Regions from separate parts of the Homo sapiens genome. Here regions 1, 3, 4, 5 and 6 are each linked to region 2. The links are contacts of gene promoters, found by promoter capture Hi-C in blood cells and fetal thymus (Javierre and others, 2016). All regions are on one chromosome and are shown on one strand. Each heading gives the region's core, a stretch centred on a gene start or on the middle of the fragment in contact. The rest is flanking DNA. Distances are from core to core; before and after follow the strand shown.

Region 1 (3,661 bases), core at 381-2,880, 370 kb before region 2:
AAAATCATGCCACTGCACTCCAGCCTGGGTGATAGAGTGAGTCCCTGTCTCAAAATATAAATAAGTAAAAAGCAATTTCACATGAACTTTTTTAAGGGTCACAGTGCCTATAGCTTAACTGAATTGTCCAATACATTTGCATTTCTTATAGGTGCTGCTTACGCTCATGCAGAAGAGAGTATCAAGAAATTGGTGGAGCAATATAAACTGCCATTTTTGCCCACCCCTATGGGGAAGGGTGTTGTCCCTGACAACCATCCATACTGTGTAGGTGCAGCCAGATCCAGGTGTGTGGCATTCCAGATTTTAAATACAATGGCTTGGTAGATTTTAGGCTAATTTAAATTATTTTGTGATCTTCATCTAGGATGGAGTTCTGAAAGAATCATGGAATTTTAAGCATACCTGTTTATTTTTGGACTATCTTCTGGCTTTCATTTCATATGAGAAATCTGCAGTCATTCAAATTATTGTTGCTCTGTATGTAATATGTTGTTTTTCCATGGCTGTTCCCAAGATTTTCCTTTGTCTTTTGTTTTCAGCAGTTTAAGTATGATGTGCCTGGAAATGGTTTATTTTAATTTAGCCTTTTGGGATTCTCAAATCTTGAATATTTAAATTTATGTCTTTCTCTAAATTGTCTTTCTCTAAATTTGGAAAGTTTTCATCATTCTTTCTTCAAATATTTTTTCTATGTCAACCTTCATCCATTTTGATACTGTCTGACATGTCCCCGAGTATCTATCTGTTCATTTCTTTTTAATCCTTTTATTTTATATTTTGCTTCTCTGCTGAGATCTTCTATTTTTACATTTCTTTTAAGAATATTTTTCTATACTTCATGATGGGGTAAATTATAATAGTTTCTGCAGTCTTTGTTTATTAATTCCAACATCTGAGTCATCTCAGATTGGCATCTATTCATTATCTTTTCTTTTGAGAGTTGATCACATTTTTCTGGCTCTTTTTGTACTGAGTAATTTTGGATTGTATCCTGGATTTTTGGATATTGTATTTGGAGATTCTGGGTCATATTAAAATCCTCTGTAGAATGTTGATTTTTGTTGGTTTCTCTTAGCAATCAGTCAACGTGATTAGATTAGCTTGACTACAAATCGAAGTGTGAACTTAACCATATATAAGTAGTTCCAGGGTCACTTCAGTTTCAGAGCCTTTGCTGTGCTGTTTTGAGTCTGTCTGCACATGTCCAGCTCAGGGGTGAGCCCCAGACATGTACTGGTTCATACCCAGAATTAGGGATTTATTTTCTCTCCTCTGTAGGCTCCACACCCCCACTCTCCCATTCTCAGTTGCCCCTTTTCCTGGCTCTTGCTGCTCCCTTATAGTATCACATAACTAAAGCTGCCCTCTGAACAAGCTGCAGAAGAAAAAAATAATGGGGATTGTCCCCATACTCTTCAGACCACAGGGACCCTTTTTCCCAATCCCTCTTGCCTCAAAGATGACGTTTCTCTTGGAATTTCAGCTGCTTGGGAGCCACCACCATGCAGCTCTGCAGTAAGGCTGCCCTCAGAGCAGAGCTTGGAGATAAAGAAAAAAAGAAAAAAAATCTGACATTTCCCCCCATACTCTCCAGCTTGCAGTGGCCCTTTTCCTGATCCTTTGGCCAAAAAAACAGTTTCTCTGCAAGTTTTCGCTGCTTGCAGTTCTGCAACTAGGGCTGCCTTTGAGTCAAAGCCAGGAGACAAAACACGGGGGAGAAATACCTTGGAAACTTACCCTCTGTGTGGGTTGCTTCTTCAAACTTAGCCAATCTTGGCTGGCATTGGAAGTTTCCTCTTTTTAGATTTTTAAGGCATGCTTTTTAATATACTATAACTTTTTTCTTTTTAATTTCTTGAAATGTCTTTATTATGAAATATTCTAACTATACACACAGGAAGAGAGAATAATGTAATGAACACTTACATAACCACCACTCAACTTTATCAGCATCAACATAAAAAATATAGACAGATGAATCTCTAAGTAAAAAAAGGTTTCATTTGGCAGTAATGTATAAGAAGTAGGATTGCATCAGTTATTAACATTGTTTTATATTGCTTTAGGGTTTTTGGTTTTTTTTTTTTTTTTTTTTTGAGACGGAGTCTTGCTCTGTCACCCAGGCTGGAGTGCAGTGGCGCGATCTTGGTTCACTGCAAGCTCTGTCTCCTGGGTTCACACCATTCTCCTGCCTCACCCTCCCTAGTAGCTGGGACTACAGGCGCCTGCCACCACACCCGGCTAATTTTTTGTATTTTTAGTAGAGATGGGGTTTCACTGTGTTAGCCAGGATGGTCTCCATCTCCTGATTTTGTGATCCGCCCGCCTCAGCCTCCCAAAGTGCTGGGATTACAGGTGTGAGCCACTGCGCCCAGCCGGTTTTTGGGTTTTTTTTGGAGACAGGGTCTTGCTCTGTTGCCTGGACTGGAGTGCAGTGGTGCAATCACACCTGATTGCAACCTCTGCCTGCTGGGCTAAAGCAATCCTCCCACCTCAGCCTCCCAAGTATTAATAGCTGGAACTACAGGTGTGTGCCACTACAACCCAGCTAATTTTTGTATTTTTTGTAGAAACGAGGTTTCACCGTGTTGCCCATGCTGGTCTTGATCTCCTGGGCTCAAGGAATCCACCCTTCTAGGCCTCGCAAAGTGCTAGGATTACAGGCATGAGCCACCATGCCTGGCCTAAGGTGTTTTTTTTTTTTCTTTTTAGGAAGCAAAAAATTATGGATTCATTTGCAGTCCCCTAAATATCTTTTTTGATGCCATTTCTTGCTTCCCTTTCTGTAGTTTATTACTGTCATGTGTTTGGTGTTCTTCATATTTTCATTCATGGGTTAAAATTAATTCTGAGGGTTTTTGATTTTTATTTTGTAGAGACAGGGCCTCACTGTGTTGCCCAGGCTGGACTCAGACCCCTAGGCTCAAGTGATCCTTCCACCTTGGCCTCCCAAAGTGCTGGGATTACAGGTGTGAGCACCTGGCTTCTGAGGGCTTTTTAAATGTAATGTTTGCTGCTAGATCTTTAATTGTTCCTCACTTAATGCTATCTTAATATGTTGTATTTTTATTTATATTACTATATACAGTAACCAAGTTAATTCTTACACTTAATTTTTTTATACTTAGGTTGAAATGAAGTTTATCTTCAGTCTAGCCAGATTTTAAGAGGATAATATTAATGACATTACCAGTGTAAAAAAGGTTACAAGGGACTATAAATAATTGAATCAATGATTTCAAGAGTTTTAGAGTATCAGTAAGCAAGTCCGTCCTGCTGATTGCAGTTATCTGTTTGTTAAATTGGGTCTCATAGGACTAATACAATATTAAAGATGATTTTTGAGTATGTACTCAATTTATGAGTATATAATTTCTGTGAAAAATTGCATTTATCACTGAAGAAGACAAAAGCAGTAGATACAGATCCTGTATGGCAAAAGACAGGAAAAAGGGGAAACAGATAAAAAGCAGAAAAATGAGAAGTGAAAAACAAAACAAAACCCACAGCAATTATGACAATTATGATAATAAACTCTCCTGGAAAAAGGCAGACATTCAGATTAGATTAGATTAGTAATAACAGCAACTGTATGTGTTATAAGAGCCACATCGGAAACGTAATGATACAGCTTTAAAACAAGACTGGGCAAAGATAT
Region 2 (3,466 bases), core at 967-3,466:
AAAAAAAATTAGCCAAGTGTGGTTGTGTCTACCTGTAGTCCCACCAATTGGGAGACTGAGGCAGGAGGATTGCTTGAGCTTTGCAGTTTGAGGCTGCAATGAGCTATTATTAGTGGGCCACGGCACTCCAGGCTGAGTGACAGGGCAAGACGCTGTCTCTTAAAAAAAAAAATATGGTACACCCACATAATGAACTACTGTGCAGCTATTACTAAAAACAGTATAAACCAGTTTGTAAAAAAAAAAAAAAAGCATATACACATACGCATAAAAAAACACAAAAATATAGTCACACACCACATAACATTTCAGTCAACAACAGACTGAATATATGATAGTGGTCCCCTAAGATTATAATGGAGTTGAAAAATTCCTATTGCCTGGTCATGTCATAGCCATCATAATGTCATAGCACAACACTTTACTCGCATGTTTGTGGTGATGCTGATGTAAACAAACCTACTGGGGTGCCAGTGGTGTAAAAGTCTACCACACACAATAATGTAGAGTACATAATACTTGATAATCAACAACTATGTTACTGGTTTATGTATTTACTATGCTATACTATGTACTGTTAGTATACTCCTTTTATAAAAAAAAGTTAACTATAAAACAGTCTCTGACATGTCCTTCAGGAGATATTTCAAGAGACATTGTTATCATAGGAGACGACAGTTTCATTCCTGTTATTGCTCCTGAAGACCTCCCAGTGGGACAAGATTGGAGGTGGAAGACAGTAATATTGATGATCCTGACGAGGTGTAGGCCTAGGCTAACGTGTGCCTTAGTTTTTAACTAAAGAATAAAAAAAAAAAAAGAAACAAAAAAACTTACCAAATAAAGATATAAAGAAAATGTTTGTGTAACTGCACAATAAGTTCGTTTTAAGCTATTACAAAAGAGTTAAAAAGTTAAGAAAATTTAGAAGTTTATAAAGTAAAAGGGTTACCGTAAGCTAAGGTTAGTTTATTACTGAAGAAAGATTAAAAAAATTTAGCGTAGCCTAAGGGTACACTGCTTATAAAGTCTACAAGAGTAGAGCAGTGAATGTCCCAGGCCTTCACATTCACTCACCACTACTCACCAACTCAGAGCAACTTCCAGTCCTGCAAGCTCCTTTTGTGGGTAAGTGCCCCACACTGGTGTAGTATTTTTTTTTTATCTTTTATGCTGCATGTTTACTGTACCTTTTCTATGTTTAGATGCACAAATACTTACCACTGCATGTAACTGCACACACCACTGAGTACAGCAACACGCTGCGCAGGCCTGTAACCTAGGAGCAACAGGCCATGCCATACAGCTTAGGTGTGGAACAGGCTGTACCATTCAGGCTTGTGTAAGCGCTTTCTACGGTGTTCGCACAACAACAAAATGGCCTAAGAACACATTTCTCAGAAAATATCACATCGCTAAGGACGCATGACTGTATGTCAAATGCTATGACAGGAGATGGTTTTTATTCTTTTTAAGTTTATTTAACGAGCATGCATTATTTTGATATATATCACAGGCCATTTCCCGCTAGCTGTAAATCAGAGTCAAGTGACAGCAAGAATTGGCTACTAACTACCCATATCTAACACCTGCCCCCCAAAGCGGCTCAACGGTGGGCATTTGCCAGTCAGGACTACAGGTGGAGGAGCGGCGGCTGCAAGCCGCGACCCAGCCTCCCCGCAGCCTCAGCGTCGGCCTCTGCACTCGGGCTTGCCGCTCCCAACAAGAGGAGGGCCGGGAGGCGGACGAGGGAAAAGCAAAGCCGGGGCCGCTAGCCTCCGCACCCGGATCCCGCCCCTCGGCCGCAGGCCCGGGCCGCACTCCGACTGAGCAACTCCGACCGAAGCGCCGGGCCCGGCCCTACCTTGTAATAAAACACCGCCTCGGAGTAGCGGCCTTCGTGGTCGCGCTGAACCGCCAGACGGGCGAACTGCACAGCGTCCCGCTCCAGTGCTGTGGCGTCCATGGCGCAGTGGCCCCGCGCCGGGGCAGGGAAGGAGGCCCTGACGCAGGACGGCTCTTCGCGGACTGCGGCGGCCCGGCGGCGGCGAGGACTCGGGAGCGCCGCGGAAGGAGCGGCAAAGTTTACTTTGGACGGTGGAGGAGAGCTCGCCTTCCCGTTGCCGGGCTGGGGTCCACCGCGAAGCCGCGCCCCTCAGCCCAGACCCGGCTTGTAGCCCACCCGGCCGCCCCACTTCGCGGCCCCAGCGGCCCTCGCCCCGCCCACCAGCCGCCCGACGCAGGCGCAGCCTGGCCCTCACGAGCTCCTTAGAAGCTGGGGCCGCCGAGGCCAGGCTCGCGGGACTGCGCGGGCTGTGGGCGGGGCCGGGCCCACGCAGGAGCCGGGCCGCGGGGGCGGGGCAAAAAGGCCTGCCGCTGTGCACGTGACCGTCGCGGCGCCCGGGATTGAGCAGCTGAGGGCAGGTGCCACGTCCGAGCTGCCCACACACCGCCTTATGCGTGGCGGTGGCGGTGCAGGGCGAGGCTGTTTTCGTCGACAGTGGGCAGTAGAGGGGTACGCGCCTTACAGATCCTTTCCTCTGTTAAGTGTAAGGGATGGGAGTAAAGAGCTAAGGAAGAATGCCTCCCACCAGCATCTGACACATTAAAAAAATTACCGTGAGGACAGAGGTTCTTTAGAGTCACTCTTCGCTAACATTTATTTTCATTTGTTTTCCACAAGCTGAATCATGACCCTATAGCCCCCCACTGTACACCAAGGTCGTATTGATTGAATTGTTAACAAACAAGGTAATGTATTTCCACTTGTACTTACCCTTAGGTTAACTTGATGCTGTTGTAATTAAATACTTAATTAGGTGATTATTTGATTTATGTCTTCTCTCCCCTAAAGGTCTGAAGTCAGCAGTAATAAAAATGAATTAGTGATGGGCACCACCAAATTCATGCTGAGTCAAAGAAGTAAGAATTGAGTACATAATGTATAATTCCATCTATAAGAAACACTAGAAAACACTACGATGTTAGAAAGCAGATCAGTGGTTGGGAAGGGGATACAAAGGAATCTTTTCGGATGATGAGAATGTTTTATATCTCAATGGTGGTGTAAAAATATATACGTTTGTCAAAACTTATCAAACTACATTTTAAGTGTGTACTTTTAATTTTTTAATTATACTCTAAATTTTTTTTCAGTCATTTGGCCTGCATTTAAAATGGGACTCTAATTTCTTAGTTTAAGTGTATTTCTTCACATTTAGTGAAGTTCTTAATAACAACGGTCTCATCAGGCTGTTATAAAGACACACAGAATTTGATTTTGTGCCTGGCCCAAAGATGGCTCTCAAAGGTAGCAACTACAGTTTTATAGCTGAAGCAGGGATGCTTCCTGTCTTTACCACTTTGATCCCAGCGTTGAGCGCAAGCCTTGTTCCAGAGCAGGTGTTCAACAAATATTTTAAAATGTTGAATGAGTCAACTCCACTACTTAAATATATCTAATGTG
Region 3 (3,547 bases), core at 109-2,608, 340 kb before region 2:
CTTTGGGAGGCCAAGGTAGGCAGGTTGCTTGAGCTCAAGAGTTCAAGACCAGCCTGGGCAACATAGTGAAACCCTGTCACTACAAAAAAATACAAAAAATTAGTTGAGTGTAGTGGCATGTTCCTGCACTTTCAGCTACTCAGGAGGCTGAGGTGGGAGTCACCACCCTGGAGGTCGAGGCTACAGCCAGCCTGGGCGTTAAGTGAGAGCCTATCTCAAAACAAAACAATAACTGCAACAACTGTTCAAGACAGAGTTCAGTAAGGTATAAATTAAAACAAAAACAAAATAAAAAGTAGAGGGAAGAAGTTAAAGTGTACAGATTTTTTATTTTTATTTCTCACACTATACTGATGTAAAAAGTGTAGCATTTTAATTAGTTTTCTCTTTGCTTGTTTATACAAGTGTTAAGTTGTCATCAGTTTAAAGAAATGGGTTATAAGATATTATTTGCAAGCTTCATGGTAACCTCAAATCAAAAAACATATGATTGATAACACAAACAATAAAAAGGAAGAAATTAAAACATACCACTAGAGAAAATCACCTCGGCTAGAAAGGAAGACAGGACAGAAGGAAAGAAGGAAGAGAAGACCACAAAACAACCAGAAAACAAGTCATTACTTATCAATAATAACATTGAATGTAAATGGACTAAATGCTCCAATCAAAAAGCATAGAGTGGTTGAATGGATAAAGAAAAAAAAAGACCCAATGATCTGTTGCCTACAAGAAACACACTTCACGTATAAAGACACTCATAGACAAAAGAAAGGGATGGAAAGAGATACTCCATGCAAATGGAAATCAAAAAAGAGCAGGAGTAGCTATACCTGTATCAGACAAAATAGACTTCAAGACAAAAACTGTAAAAAGAGGCCAGATTATTATATAATTATAGAGGAGTCAATTCAGGAAGAGGATATAACAATTATATATGCATCCAATACTGGAGCACCCAGATATATAAAGCAAACATTAATAGAGTTAAAGAGAGAGATAGACCCCAATATAATAATAGTGGGAGACTTCAACACCCCACTTTCAGCATTGGACAAATCATCCAGACAGAAAACAAAGTAACATTGGACTTAATCTGCACTGCAGACCAGATGGACCTAATAGATATTTATAGAACAATTCATGCAATGGCTGCAGAATATACATTCTTCTCCTCAGCACATAGATTATTCTCAAGCATAGACCATATGTTAGGCCACAAAACAAGTCTTAAAACATTTTAAAAAACTGAAATAATATCAAGTCTCCTCCCTGATCTCAATGGAATAAAACTGGAAATCGATAATGAGGAATTTTGGAAACTATACAAACACATGGAAATTAAACAGTATGTGTCTGAGTAACCAATGGGTCAGTGAGGAAATTAAGAAGGAAACTGAAAAAATTATTGAAACACATGATAATGGAAACACAGCATACCAAAACCTATGGAATACAGCAAAGCAGTGCTAAGAGGGAAGTTTATAGCTATAAGTACCTACATCAAAAAAGTAGAAAAACTGGCTGGGTGCAGTGGCTCACGCCTGTAATCCCAGCATTCTGGGAGGCTGAGGTGGGTGGATCACCTGAGGTCAGGAGTTCAAGACCAGCCTGGCCAACATGGTGAAACCCTGTCTCTACTAAAAGTACAAAAGAAAAAAGCTGGGTGTGGTGGCACATGCCTGTAATCCCAGCTACTCAGGAGGCTGAGGCAGGAGAATTGCTTGAACCCAGGAGGCAGAGGATGCAGCGAGCCAGTATTGCACCACTGTACTCTAGCCTGGGTGACAGAGCAAGACTCCATCTCAAAAAAAAAAAAAAAAGAAAAAATAGAGAAACTTCAAATAAACAACCTAACAATATATCTTAAAGATTTAGCAAAGCAAGAGCAAACCAAACTTAAGATTAGTAGAAGAAATAATAAAGAGCAGAGCAGAAATAAATGTAATTGAAATAAAGAAAACAATGCAAAAGTTCAACAGAACAATTTTTTAAAAAATAAAATCCTTTCGCCAGATTAAGGAAAAGAGAAGACCCAAATAAATCAGAGATGAAAAAGGAGACATTACAACTGATATCACAGAAATTCAAAGGATCATTGGAGCAACTATATGACAAGAAATTGGAAAACCCAGAAGAAATGGATAAGTTCCTAGACACATACAACCTACCAAGATTGAACCATAAGTAATACCCCACAAGCACAGGCAACCAAAGCAAAAATAGACAAATGGAGTCACATCAAGTTAAAAAGCTTCTGCACAGCAAAGGAAACAAAGTGAAGAGACAACCCACAGACTGGGAGAAAATATTTGCAAACTACTCATCAGAATATATAAGGAGCTCAAACAGCTCTGTATGGAAAAAATCTAATACAATTAAAAAATGGGCAAGAGATCTGAACAGACATTTCTCAAAGTAAGTCATACAAATGGGAAACAGGTATATGAAAAGGTGCTAAATATGGTCATCAGAGAAATGCATATGAAAACTGCAATGAGATGCTTTCTCACCCCAGTTAAAATGGCTTTTATTCAAAAGACAGGCAATAACAAATGCTGGAGAGGATGTGGAGAAAAGGGAACTCTTGTACACTGTTGGTGGAATATAAATTAGTACAACCACTATGGAGAGCAGTTTGGAGGTTCCTCAAAAAACTGAAAATAGAGGGCCGGGCACAGTGGCTCACACCTGTAATGTCAGCACTTTGGGAGGCTGAGGAGGGTGGATCGCTTCAGCTCAGGTGTTTAGACCAGCCTGGGAAATATGGCAAAGCCCCATCTCTACAAAAATACAAAAATAAAAAATTAGCCAGGCATGATTGTATATGCCTATAGTCCCAACTACTCGGGAGACTAAGGATGGGGGATTGCTTGAGCCCAAGAGGTAGAGGCTATGGTGAGCCGAGAGTGTGCCACTGCTCTCCAGCCTAGGTGACAGAGCAAGACCATGTCTCAAAAAAAAAAAAAAAAAAAAAAAAAAAAACCCACTAAAAATAGAGCTACAATATGATCCAGCAACCCACTCCTAGGCTTATACCCAAAAGAAAAATCAGTATATTGAAGCAGTATCTGCACTCCCATGTTTATTGTAGCACTGTTCACAGTAGCCAAGTTCTGGAAACAACCTAAGTGTCCATCAGCAGATGGATGGATAAAGAAAATGTGGTACATATACACAATGGAGTACTATTCAGCCATAAAAAGAATGAGATCCTTTCATTTGCAGCAACATGGATGGAATTGGAGGTCATTATGTTAAGTGAAATAAGCCAGGCACAGAAAGACAAACTTCACATGTTCTCACTTATTGGTGGGAGCTAAAAGTTAAAACAATCGAACTCATGGACATAGAGAGGTTACCAGAGGCTGGCAACAGTAGTCAGGAGAGAGGGCAGTGGGGATGGTTAATGGGTACAGAAGAATAAAAAGAATGAATAAGACCTAGTATTTGACAGCACAACAGGATGACTGTAGTCAACAATTGTACATTTTACAATAACCCAAAGAGTATAATTGGATCGTTTGTCACAACAACAACAAAGAAG
Region 4 (3,493 bases), core at 556-3,055, 430 kb before region 2:
AACCAAGCTTAATGAGGTAGAAGAGAATGAGTAATTACAATAAAAATAGGTCTAGTCAGCCGGCCCTCAGTATCCATTGTTTCTGCATCCATGGATTCCACCAACCTTGGATTGAAATTACTGGGGTGGGAGGGGGAGGAGGGAGCCCAATAAAAATAATAGCACAACAATAAAAAATAATAGCAATTTAAAAAATACAGTATAACAATTATTTATATAGCATTTAGTTTGTATTAGGTAGTGTAAGGGATCTAGAGATGATTTAAAGTGTACAGGAGGAAGTGTTTAGGTTACATGTAAATTCTACACCATTTGATATAAGGGACTTGAGCATCTGAGGGTTTCGGTATCCACGGGGTCCTGGAACCAGTCCCAACAGATACTGAGGGACAACTGTACATCAATTTGCCCTTCCCAAAGAAACATTTTACCCAAATTAGCAAATGCTGCTTTTCTCTCTTTGGCATCACACATACCTTCTCAGGAAAAAGTAAATAGGGCCTGTGGCAAGGACTCTGAAGGGTTCAGCAGGCAGCAGCGGGAGGTGCTCAGTTGTAAAGTGGCAGGACTAGAGGTAGGGCTGGAGGGGCCCAGGCATCCCCCAGAAGCCTTCCAGCAGCTACCAGGTGCTGGCCCGTGAGGTTATGCACGGGACGACTGGGGTGCGGGGCCTTCCTGGGAACAAGGGGCCCTGGAAGTCATGGGGTTCTTGGAAATACAGCAGCTGACCCATCTTTAGAGCTGGTCAGGACCTGGACCATAAAGAAAATGGTAACTAGAGGTGTGACAAGGTGGCAATGTACTTGCTTTCATTGAAGGGCATCTGACATAGGAGAGTAAACTGCAGGAAGGGTCCAGTGTGAAAGCACAATTGAGGCAACCATGTGCACGCCCTCTGAGATGAGGGCCTTGGCTCGTGGGGTGTACTGAACCCCACTTCCAGGGAACAGCAGAACCAGGAAGGTGCTGGCTTCAGACAGCCATGCAATTCCCAACTGTGGGCCAGCCCCAGGGGTTAGGTGTCAGGGGTCCAACAGTGGACAAGACAGACCCTTCCTCGTGGGGCTCGTGCTCTGGATAACTGTGTGAGATGGTGATTAAGCACAAAGGAGAAATGAGGCAGTGAAGGTGGTAAGGTGAGGCGAGGGGGACAATTTTAAGCAGTGTGGTCAAGGAAGACCTCGATGAGAGGGTGATGTTTGGACCGAGGCCTGAAGGGGGTTCGGGAGGAAATCACGTGGGTCTGCGAGGTGAGAGCACGGCAGGCAGAGAGCCTGAGGCAGGAGCATGCCTCACGGGCGGGTGCAAGAAACAGCAAGGACAGCAGGGGGCTGGAGCCAAGGGGACAAGGAGAAAGTGGCAGCAAAAGGAATCACAGAGAGAGAAATGACAGGGACCTGCTTAGTGGTCTCCTAACATCCCCCTGCATTTGTCCTCATCCTCTTCCATTCTGGACTCATAAGAGCAGCCAGTGAGATCCAGAGAAAGCCTGAGTCTACCAAGGTGCACCTCTGAAACTCTTCCAGTGACTCCCCAGTTCACGTAGCGCAGAAGTCAAAGTCCTTACAATAAGCCAATAGAAAGCATCTGGGAGACAGGAAACACTTGGCAGGTGGGGAGAGATGCAGAGTGGCATCTTGAAGTAAGCATCCTGATCTTGGACGGCCCTACAGAAGCTCTGCTTCTGATTTCATAAGGAAAACATTCCCCCAACACCAGTCCTGATCAGGAAGGTTCTTTCCATCTAATAGGAAAAATCAGTCTCAATTACATGGAAATCTATTTCATGTAAATTTGGTAATATGTCAATCACTAGATATTTTTACACACAAGGGATTTTTCCCCACCTTGCTAAATGATTCATCTTAATAATTAGCTGTGTTTCCTTCCTAGCCATGCTATTACAATAGTGTCTTCTGAAATAAAATGAGAGGGATTATTATTAAGGCATTCTTAATAATTTCAGAGGCAGATACATACATTAAAAAATCTTTAAAAGATAAATAAAACATCTTTTTAATAAAATATCTTGTCATTCTTTACTTGTCAGGGAGAATAGCAATCCTATGATTAGGAAAGGAGGCAGGAAAAGTTGGCAGAGGAGATGTCACATCCTGTGGAACAAAGCCTGAGGGAACTGCTAAGTCATTAGGAACCGGCATAGTATACATTTCTATGTGTAGTGACTGAATGCCAAGAAAAACATTGGGAAGTTCCAACAGTCTTTAAATTATTCTCATGAATTTCGTGACTTCATTGTCTAAATTCTTTTACATAAACAGGAGAAATAATGTCTATCTTCACCTAATTTATATGATCTGAATTTAAAGAAATCACAAAAATGATCTTTTATTTCCCAGAAAGTCTTCTCTTGCCTCTTGTTATCTGATTGTCACATCTGAGTGTGCTGGTCATGAGCTTGTCCGTGACCGGCCCCTGGAACAAGAAGCTCCACAATGGTTCTCGCGTGGGCAGCTTTGTTTAAACCCACCCACTACCAAGACGTTTGATGTCTCATTCGGAAAGTTCAAGGGTAAACACTTGTGAGTGACAGCTGATGATTTAAGCCTGAACTCACCAGCAACTGTGAATAAGTTATCAAGCTAATATGTCCTCTGAGTTGAGGTGGTAAATTGTAATTTCACTTTCAAAAAAAATTCCAGCTATTATTTTAAAAAAAGAGAATGATATACAGAAGTGTAACTGTGCACTGTGCCTTTGATTAGCCAGTTTCTGCTCCATTGGCTAGAATAATTTATCCTAGGAAACCAAATGTGCAATCAAAGGATCTTGACATTTCAACTGAAACACGTTATATCTTTCTTTTCCTCAAATGAGAAACTGCCTTCACAGTTTAAGTCAAATAAAACTTCTTCCTGAAATGCCCAGGTATTTAATGTAAGAAGGCTTTTTTGCACATGGAATTTGAATAACAGTCTGTCTTTCACTTTCTATAGACAGAAGGAACCCCGGCTGAGACTGATTCTCAGACAGTTGCTACTGCCACTCCGTGGACAAACTGAGTATCATTAACCCAAGTGGCTACGCATGTGACCTTAGGTATCGCAATAGCAGAGCCATTCTTAAGCAGTAAATGGATGGCTTTTCCCCCCTTTCCTTCTCCATTTCTAATACTTCATCTATCTCTTTTACAGTTAAACAAGACCCAGAAAGCATCTGACTTTCAAGATTTGAGTTTCATGAAAGCTGTTTTTTACTCACCACACTCCCACGATGGCATCTTTTTGAATTTGTTGCAATTTCATACAATATGACTGGATGTAAAAAGTGACGCTGCCCATTCCCCCTGTGACACACAGCGTCTGCGTGGGGAAATCTGTCTGAATTAAGGGATCTACAATCAATGCCACATTGCATTTTACATGCAATATAAACCGTTTGAATATCCATTATTATTATTTTTTTATCTTCCTGCCACACAAAGCAGAGAAAGCAGATGGTAAAAATTCCATCTTCATGGTGAGGGAAAACT
Region 5 (3,606 bases), core at 908-3,407, 480 kb before region 2:
CCGAGGTGGGTGGATCATGAGGTCAGGAGTTCAAGACCAGCCATGCCTAGATGGTGAAACCTCATCTCTCCTAAAAATACAAAAAAAATCGCCGGGTGTGGTGGCAGGCGCCTGTAATCCCAGCTACTTGGGAGGCTGAGGCAGAGAATTGCTTGAACCCAGGAGGCGGAAGTTGCAGTGAGCCAAGATCACACCACTACACTCCAGCCTGGGCGACAGAGCGAGATTCTGTCTCAAAAAAAAAAAAAAAGCAATATCAGGCAGATGCAGTTCCAGGGTTGGTTGATTCTACAACGGTGTCAGAGCTCTGGATTAAATTCTGTTATTCTCTTACATTTGCATTCATGTTGTGGGATTATTGCTGCTGCTTTTAAGGATTGCATCTAAAATCAGGAAGGAATGGGGGCTTTTCATTATTAAAGATAAAAGTATTTCCCAGCAGCCTCTAGACTTATCGGCATCTCAGTAGTCAGACCTGGTTCCTGTGCTGCTCACCTTAAAACTGATCACTGTCAGAGGAGAATGGGGTTCTTGTGATTGACTTGGTCTAATCATGGTATCATCCCTTTGCTGGAGTCAAGGCACTCTTCCTGACCACATTGCCAGAGAGCTAAATAAAATGAGCATTCTTTTAGAGGCAGATGATAGGGCATGGGTGCTGGGTAGGCGGTCTGCCTGTCATGTTTTACTGTGAGGAATTCACATTTATTCCAGCTTTAACAGTCAAAGGCCGTAGAAACCTTCTTTTTACCTATAGTTTTCATTCTTGCATATTAAATTCAGTGCAACTATCCCAAAAGTAAATTCTAGAAGATGTGCTTTTAGATGGACATTTTCTATTTTATCATTATATGTAATTACTGAAATGTTTAAATTTCACTTTACAGCAACAAATGGTCATTCAGAATGCTTACGGCTATTAATAGGAAATGCAGAACCACAGAATGCAGTGGATATTCAAGATGGAAATGGACAGTAAGTTTCGATAAATAATTGTTGCATCACAGAAGGGCGTATTTCGAAAACCAGAGTACAGTCTTAAGTGACAGCACTGAACCTATTCCTGTTGTTGCTCAGGACGCCTCTGATGCTATCTGTTCTCAACGGGCACACAGACTGTGTTTACTCATTGCTGAACAAAGGAGCAAATGTAGATGCCAAAGATAAGTGGGGAAGGACAGCGTTGCATAGAGGGGTAAGCAGAAATATGCTCTTTCCTTTCAAAAAGCTTTTATGACCTCATATTACCTAGAACTGAACTAGGTTATGTTTATTTTTTCTTCATTAAATGTTCGTCAAATAGTCTTTACCATTTCTTTCAGTATCTTAGTTTTTAAATGCTAATTTTGAACAATTACAGAGTACAACTTAATCTAGAGAACAATGTTAGAACAAAATTTTAAAACTCTAAAACTTTTAGTAGAATTAATGTCAATTTGACTTTTTCCATTATCTCACTTATTTTCTTATACACTTTAATCTTTTTTCACCTTTGAAATATCATTATTTTCATTGAATACCAAGTTTCTCTCTTCCTGTTTTCATACTATTTGCATTTTAGAAGGGTTCTTGCTTTAACTGAATTTTTAAACCACTTCCAATAAAAATACAGAATTACTCATAAAATGATAAATGGCTTTAATTGATGGAAGGATATGGAGAGTATGGTCTTTAAAGTTTTTAATTAGCTGAAATTGGCATGTAATGTTTAGCATAATATGTTTGACTACCTTTAAATTATTTTCTTTCAGGCAGTTACAGGCCATGAAGAATGTGTAGATGCATTACTTCAACATGGTGCTAAGTGCTTACTTCGGGATAGCAGGGGCCGGACGCCTATACACCTGTCTGCTGCCTGTGGACACATTGGTGTTCTTGGAGCCCTTTTGCAGTCAGCAGCATCTATGGATGCAAATCCAGCCACAGCAGACAATCATGGATATACGGCACTTCACTGGGCTTGCTACAATGGTTAAGTATACAAACACAAATGCATATCATTGTGTAGTGAACAGAGATAAAAGAATGACATATTTATAAGGCAAATTTTAAGTTTAAAATTAGCAAAAACCTTGGGAATAATCTACTGTATAGGCTCACGTACTAATAATACTTAGTACGTAGGCTCACTCCTGTCCTTTGTCATGCTAAAGCCAAGACACTAGTTGTCAAAGGTGTTCTGAGATAAGCCATGAAGTATTTTTGAGGTTTTTCTTTTCTTTTCTTTTCTTTTTTAGTTTTGGTAGGATCTTGCTATGTTGCCCAGGCTGGTCTTGAACTCCTGGCATCAAGTGATCCTCCCACCTCAGCCTCCCAAAGTGTTGGGATTACAGGCATGAGCCACCATGTAGCCTGAAGTTTTTCTTAGATCCTTATTTCCACAAATATTTTGCATTTTTAGGAGGTTTTTAGAATGTTTCCATTGCTTTTATATAGTGTGCTTGTATTTTGATTGTGTTCTTTTACTATTTTTTTTTTTTTAAGAGTCCCACTATGTTGCCCAGGCTGGTCTTGAACAACTGGGCTTAAGCAATCCTCCCACATCAGACTCCCCAAGTGCTAGGATTACAGGCATGAGCCATTGCACCCAGCCATGTTCTTTTACTTTCTAAATACAATCATATTAGGGGAAAAATAACCAAAAGTAGGAGAAACAGTGAGATGTATCACATTCTAAACTGAAATCTATGTATGTTTTCTGAGCACATTGCAAGATAACATTCTTATATTACCAGTAATATCCATGTTCAATGTTTTAAAGGAATAAATCCCTAGCAGGTCTTAGAATTAGAAACTTTGATGGGTTAACTCTGCTACATGGTTAAAAGAGATTTTCTTTGGCCTCCTACAGGCTCACAGTCACAGTCATCGCTTTTATAGGTAGACTCATAAAAGGTCACGTAGGGAAGCATAAAGCTACTTTGAAGTTATAGATGTTAAAAATGCAGTTTGGCTTATGAAATGCCACTAATTAAAATAATTTATGCAATGAAGCATGTTGAGATATTTTTAGATTTGATCATCTTAGAAAACTCAAGTACATTATATACAGTGCAAGCATCAGTGTTGTCAAAGTTCAAGCTTCAGGCTTTAGTAGAGAAATTAGAGGTTTTTAAAATTTGTTTTCAATTTCAGTGTAGCTTCAAGATTAATGTTAATTATGACAGCAGATCTACAAAGCTGTAGTTCACAATTCTAATAACCTTCCCTCAAAATGCAGAGAAAATATAAGTTGTCTCTTTATATAAATACCCATTTGCTAAAAATAAATAAGTATAATATCTGTTGTAAAATCAGACTGCCTTACCAGGAAGTTGAGATTTCCTATCTTTCTATAATATGCTGTTTCATAGTTCTTTCACTGGGAGCTGTTCTGACAAAGTTATCAAGTTAAAGCAAAAGAGGAAAAAGCTGAATCTTGTAAAATTATAACTTCATTAAATGTTTCCACAAGTATTTCTGAGATACAATATTTTGATTTTCATATTAGTCCTTATGCCAAAGTTGGGAGTTGTATTCTTTTGCCGTTAGAACATTTTGGGTTCTTGAGGTTTGTCCTGTTATACTGTTGGTTATCCTTCAGCTGAGTACTGATAGCACCATAAA
Region 6 (4,008 bases), core at 1,478-3,977, 500 kb before region 2:
GATTACACTTTGATCCTTCTGCCCTTAGACAAATGCACTAAACCTGAATTCACACACACACAAAACCACAAAGGAATAACATATAATTCAACCCATAGTGTTGGAGATGTGTGGTTTCATTGTAAGCCAATCTACTTTTCCTATAGAAGGGTACTAGTACTAAAATCACTAGTTTTCTTACTGAATATAAACGGTTTTGAGCAAGTAAGCAATGACTTTTATTATTTAAATATTTAATCCTCAGTATGTACACTAAACAGCCTGATACACTGGAAAGTATCAGGCTTGATACTTGGGATCCGAAAGACCCAATTTAAATCTTGGAGTTTCCATACTGTACCCATTTGAGTATGAGCAAGTAATTGCTAAGCCAAAATATTCTTTATTTGTAAAAGGAAAATGAAACCTCCCTGTTAGAGTTGCTGGGAAAACTAAATGAGACTGTGCATAATCTAGCACTGTTAATGGGAGCCTCTGTTTCCTATCTTTATTAAGTATCAAAATCCCAGAGAGCCTGTCGAGTGCCATCATTTATTGATTCAATGATTTGTTCCATGGGAGCCTAGTGGAAAATATAAGCCACAGTAATTATTCTGGGATACCAGAGGCATCCTTTTAATAAGTGATTGTTTTGGAGGCTTAAACAGTGGCATTAAAGGATTTATTTTTCTTAAATTGTAAAAAATATTTTTCTTAAATTGGGTACAATTGTACCCAATTGTAATTGTATTCCCAGGAATAGCTTGAGTAATAAGAGAATCAGGCATAACTCATTCTGCCAAAGCAACAATGAAATATTTTCTAAAAGAAGAGACAAATTCCTCAGAGCTTCCAATTGCTATTATTCAGTAATGTACATTTGCTTATTTGTTTTTTAAATGGTTTTTTAAAAATCCCCTGTCAGCATCACAGTTTCTACCTTTAAAGCTCCCCAGGAAAAGTTGTTGTTTATACTTTGGAATTTTTAACAATCTGACATTGGTTTTCTTTTGTTTAGGACCAACATACAGTAATTATAATTCTGCTCTGCCTTTTATCCCTTCATCCTCACTTTGAGTAAATAATTGGAAAAATACATGAAATCTTCCGTGACTCATTCTAGTCATTCTGCTTGTTACCCCCATTGTCCTGATGCCTGCGTTCTTGGTAGACAGTCATTCAGCAAGTCCTCTGAAGTGTCTTTATTTTACATCATGTAAGAATCCAGCAAACAAATATATGGCTGCTATCGCAATGAACATATTAAATATGTGAAATATTAATAAATAAAATTATATTTGCCTGTTGCAGATACGTATAGGGCTGTCTTTGAGCAGGATGTCATGTGGGTCTTCTCCACACCTGTGTGTAGTATGTATATAAGAGAAGGAAAGGTTGAGGGCTGTTTTTCCTGATTATAAGGAAGAAATTCCCCTCATACCAGCTCTCCTGAGATAACCATCATCAACAGTTATATTGCTCTGTGTGTATGTAGATTATTTTATGTCCCTCACAGCCTTAATCAAAGTTGAAGTCCTGGTATATGTTATAAAGCCTTTTCTATATCATATATAATTTTTTAAAATATTTTATGGGTTGTTATCTCTAGCCCGCACTTCATAACTCTTCCGTCCTCTATCCATTACCCAGTTCCAAAACCTCTTCCACATTTTAGATATTTGTTTCAGCAACATCGTAACTTCGCAATAACAATTCTCTTAGTCTGTTTGGACTGGTATAACAAAATACCAAAAACTGGGTGGCTTATAAACAACAGAAATCTTATTTCTCACAGTTCTGGAAGCTGAGAAGTCAAGAATATCAAGGCACCAGCACATTCAGTGTCTGGAGAAGGCCCACTTCCTCTTTGAGGGCATATTCTTGCCATATCCTCACATGGTAGAAGGAATGAGAGCTCTTTTGGGCCTTATTTATAAGGACACTAATCCCATTCATGAGGGAGGGCTCTGCCCTCTTGACCTAATCACCTCCTAAAGGCCCCACCTCCTAATAACATCACCTTGAGGTTGGAATTTCACCATGTGAATGGGTGTGGGGGGACATAAACATTTAGACCATAGCAACACTCTTAGGAAATGAGGCTACATTTTGACTTCTAATGGCAGTTTATTTTTGTCTGTTTTCAAACTTCATAAAAATGGGATCATGCAGTTTTTTGTGTGTAGAGGTTTTGTAATGCTGAGATTTATTCCTATGTATCTGATATTTTTTATTACCAAAATCAATCTTTAAATTTTTTTGTGTTGGTATATAGAAGATATATTTGCCTTTTGTATGTGACTTACATTCAACAACCTTGTTAAGCTTATTGTGTATATATATGTAAGAGCAGTGTTTGATACTAGCTCTGCCTTTTACTATGGGGACCTTCAGCAAATTACTTAACCTCTCTGTGCCTATTTAATCTGTGAAATGGAGATACTAGTCTAAACTCTGTCACGACTATGTAGAGTTTAAAATGGTTTAGTATATATGAATTGTTTGGAACAGTTCTGACGTATCCTAATCTTCCTATAAAGGTTAGTTGTATTTTTTAAAACTGATTTTTTGGGCCAGGGGTGGGGTGGTGGGGGGTGGTAAGAACTGTTGTATGCCATGATGGGAAGAGTAGAGAGGAGGGAGGGCCTCTTGGAGTGACAATACCACATCTGTTTTCCTGGCTGAGTGGTCCTTACCCAGGGCTCTGACTAGCCATGGGACACATGAATTTGAATCAGTCTGAACTTGCCTCAGAACTCAAAATAGTAGGGTTCATGAGTGGTAGGGTAAGAGTAGGAGAAATTTAAATAGTTTGAAATGCATTCCGATTTTAACCTATGTGGTTAGTGGGGATGAAGATATTTAATTTGCCTAACATTGAGGAAAAAATTGTAACAGAATATTGTTTAGCCTTAAATATTTTTTCAGATTTTGTGTATATATTTTATTTCAGAGGACAGATTATGGAGAATCTTCATTTCTTAATTGTCTGCGTTTCATAAAATGAACATGTGTTAATGTGCAAACAGAAAAAAGAGTATACAGACTCTTCTGCCCCCACCCTCTAATGAAGTTCACATTTTCAAGATCAAGCAATTTTGTGATTCAGTATTTTATAAGCACCCTAGTTAACTTACCACTGTAAGTGATTAACCACTGTTCTAAAGCTTTGTGGGAACATAGAACAATGGATAAAGGGAAGACCTGAGGTGGTTTAGTCCTTGGTTTGCCATATTCTAGCCAAAAGGATTTGGGAAAAGTCATTTAACTTAGTGTCAGTAATCTTTTTCATTTGTTAGAGATAATGCTTACCCAGAGTAATTATGAAAATTTATATTGTTTAGCAAAATCTGAAAGGTATGCCAATAAAAGAAATTGTATTAGAATAAGTTTTGTATTCAGGTCTCAGTAAGGAAGACCCATTTCTGTTTTATCACTAACATCTAGAGAACTTGATTAAAGATTTTTTTTAAATGCCCTTGGGTAAAATGTTTTTGCCTGTAAAGTATTCCTACAGACTTGCAGGCTTTTTCTGCATCCCAGTGAGCACTGTCCTCTGAATTCGGCACCAAGGAAGGCTGTGTACAGAGTTTACACACTGACTGAAACACTTCCTTTTCCTGACATGTCCTCAGAATTAGTTTGTGAAACAAAACAAAACACCAGTCTTATTACCTTAGAGCCAGACGTGGGTTTTATTTTATTTCTTTATCATAGTGATACCCACTTTAACCTTTTTATTTTATTTATTTATTTATTTATTTTTTGAGACGGAGTTTTGATCTTCTTGCCCAGGCTGGAGTGCAATGGTGCAATCTCAGCTTACTGCAACCTCCGCCTCCTGGGTTCAAGTGATTCTCCTGCCTCAGCCTCCCGAGGAGCTGGGATTACAGGTGTGTGCCACCATGCCTGGCTAATTTTGTATTTTTAGTAGAGATGGGGTTTCTCCATGTTGGTCAGGCAGGTCTTGAACTCCCGACCTCAGGTGTTCCGCCCACCTCCGCTTCCCAAAGTGCTGGGATTACAGGC

What was found. The method cuts DNA at HindIII sites, captures the fragments that hold promoters and counts their contacts. A CHiCAGO score of 5 or more calls a contact.
Region 1: a contact is called between a fragment that was not itself captured here and the fragment with the promoter of CAPN7 in region 2, in 9 of 17 cell types (megakaryocytes, total B cells, M2 macrophages and 6 more). The highest score is 7.3, in megakaryocytes.
Region 3: a contact is called between a fragment that was not itself captured here and the fragment with the promoter of CAPN7 in region 2, in 1 of 17 cell types (endothelial precursors). The highest score is 6.3, in endothelial precursors.
Region 4: a fragment that was not itself captured here is called in contact with the fragment with the promoter of CAPN7 in region 2 in 4 of 17 cell types (M0 macrophages, megakaryocytes, M1 macrophages and 1 more); the score reaches 5.9 in M0 macrophages.
Region 5: a fragment that was not itself captured here is called in contact with the fragment with the promoter of CAPN7 in region 2 in 1 of 17 cell types (M0 macrophages); the score reaches 5.6 in M0 macrophages.
Region 6: a contact is called between a fragment that was not itself captured here and the fragment with the promoter of CAPN7 in region 2, in 1 of 17 cell types (M0 macrophages). The highest score is 8.1, in M0 macrophages.

The regions. Positions count from the first base shown.
Region 1 is chr3:15,576,536-15,580,196 of GRCh38, reverse strand. HACL1 (2-hydroxyacyl-CoA lyase 1) reads left to right here. Exons shown (of 17, transcript NM_012260.4): 9 at 152-287. Among named protein-coding and RNA genes, the nearest start is that of HACL1, 23 kb to the left of the region's middle. The HindIII fragment of the contact is 7,521 bases long and covers 1-3,661 here.
Region 2 is chr3:15,204,996-15,208,461 of GRCh38, reverse strand. It overlaps CAPN7 (calpain 7), which reads right to left and starts at 2,216. Exons shown (of 21, transcript NM_014296.3): 1 at 1,865-2,216. The coding sequence starts at 1,966. It also overlaps the pseudogene COL6A4P1. RefSeq lists a silencer at 1,991-2,510. The HindIII fragment of the contact is 5,244 bases long and covers 1-3,466 here.
Region 3 is chr3:15,544,069-15,547,615 of GRCh38, reverse strand. No RefSeq gene overlaps it. Among named protein-coding and RNA genes, the nearest start is that of COLQ, 24 kb to the right of the region's middle. The HindIII fragment of the contact is 1,797 bases long and covers 460-2,256 here.
Region 4 is chr3:15,629,850-15,633,342 of GRCh38, reverse strand. All of the region lies in intron 1 of BTD (biotinidase), which reads right to left. Among named protein-coding and RNA genes, the nearest start is that of BTD, 30 kb to the right of the region's middle. The HindIII fragment of the contact is 3,591 bases long and covers 10-3,493 here.
Region 5 is chr3:15,683,591-15,687,196 of GRCh38, reverse strand. It overlaps ANKRD28 (ankyrin repeat domain 28), which reads left to right. Exons shown (of 28, transcript NM_001349278.2): 19 at 888-975; 20 at 1,078-1,195; 21 at 1,752-1,971. It also overlaps a transcript of BTD not described here. Among named protein-coding and RNA genes, the nearest start is that of MIR3134, 12 kb to the left of the region's middle. The HindIII fragment of the contact is 1,853 bases long and covers 1,231-3,083 here.
Region 6 is chr3:15,701,383-15,705,390 of GRCh38, reverse strand. All of the region lies in intron 14 of ANKRD28 (ankyrin repeat domain 28), which reads left to right. It also overlaps a transcript of BTD not described here. Among named protein-coding and RNA genes, the nearest start is that of MIR3134, 6.0 kb to the right of the region's middle. The HindIII fragment of the contact is 842 bases long and covers 2,307-3,148 here.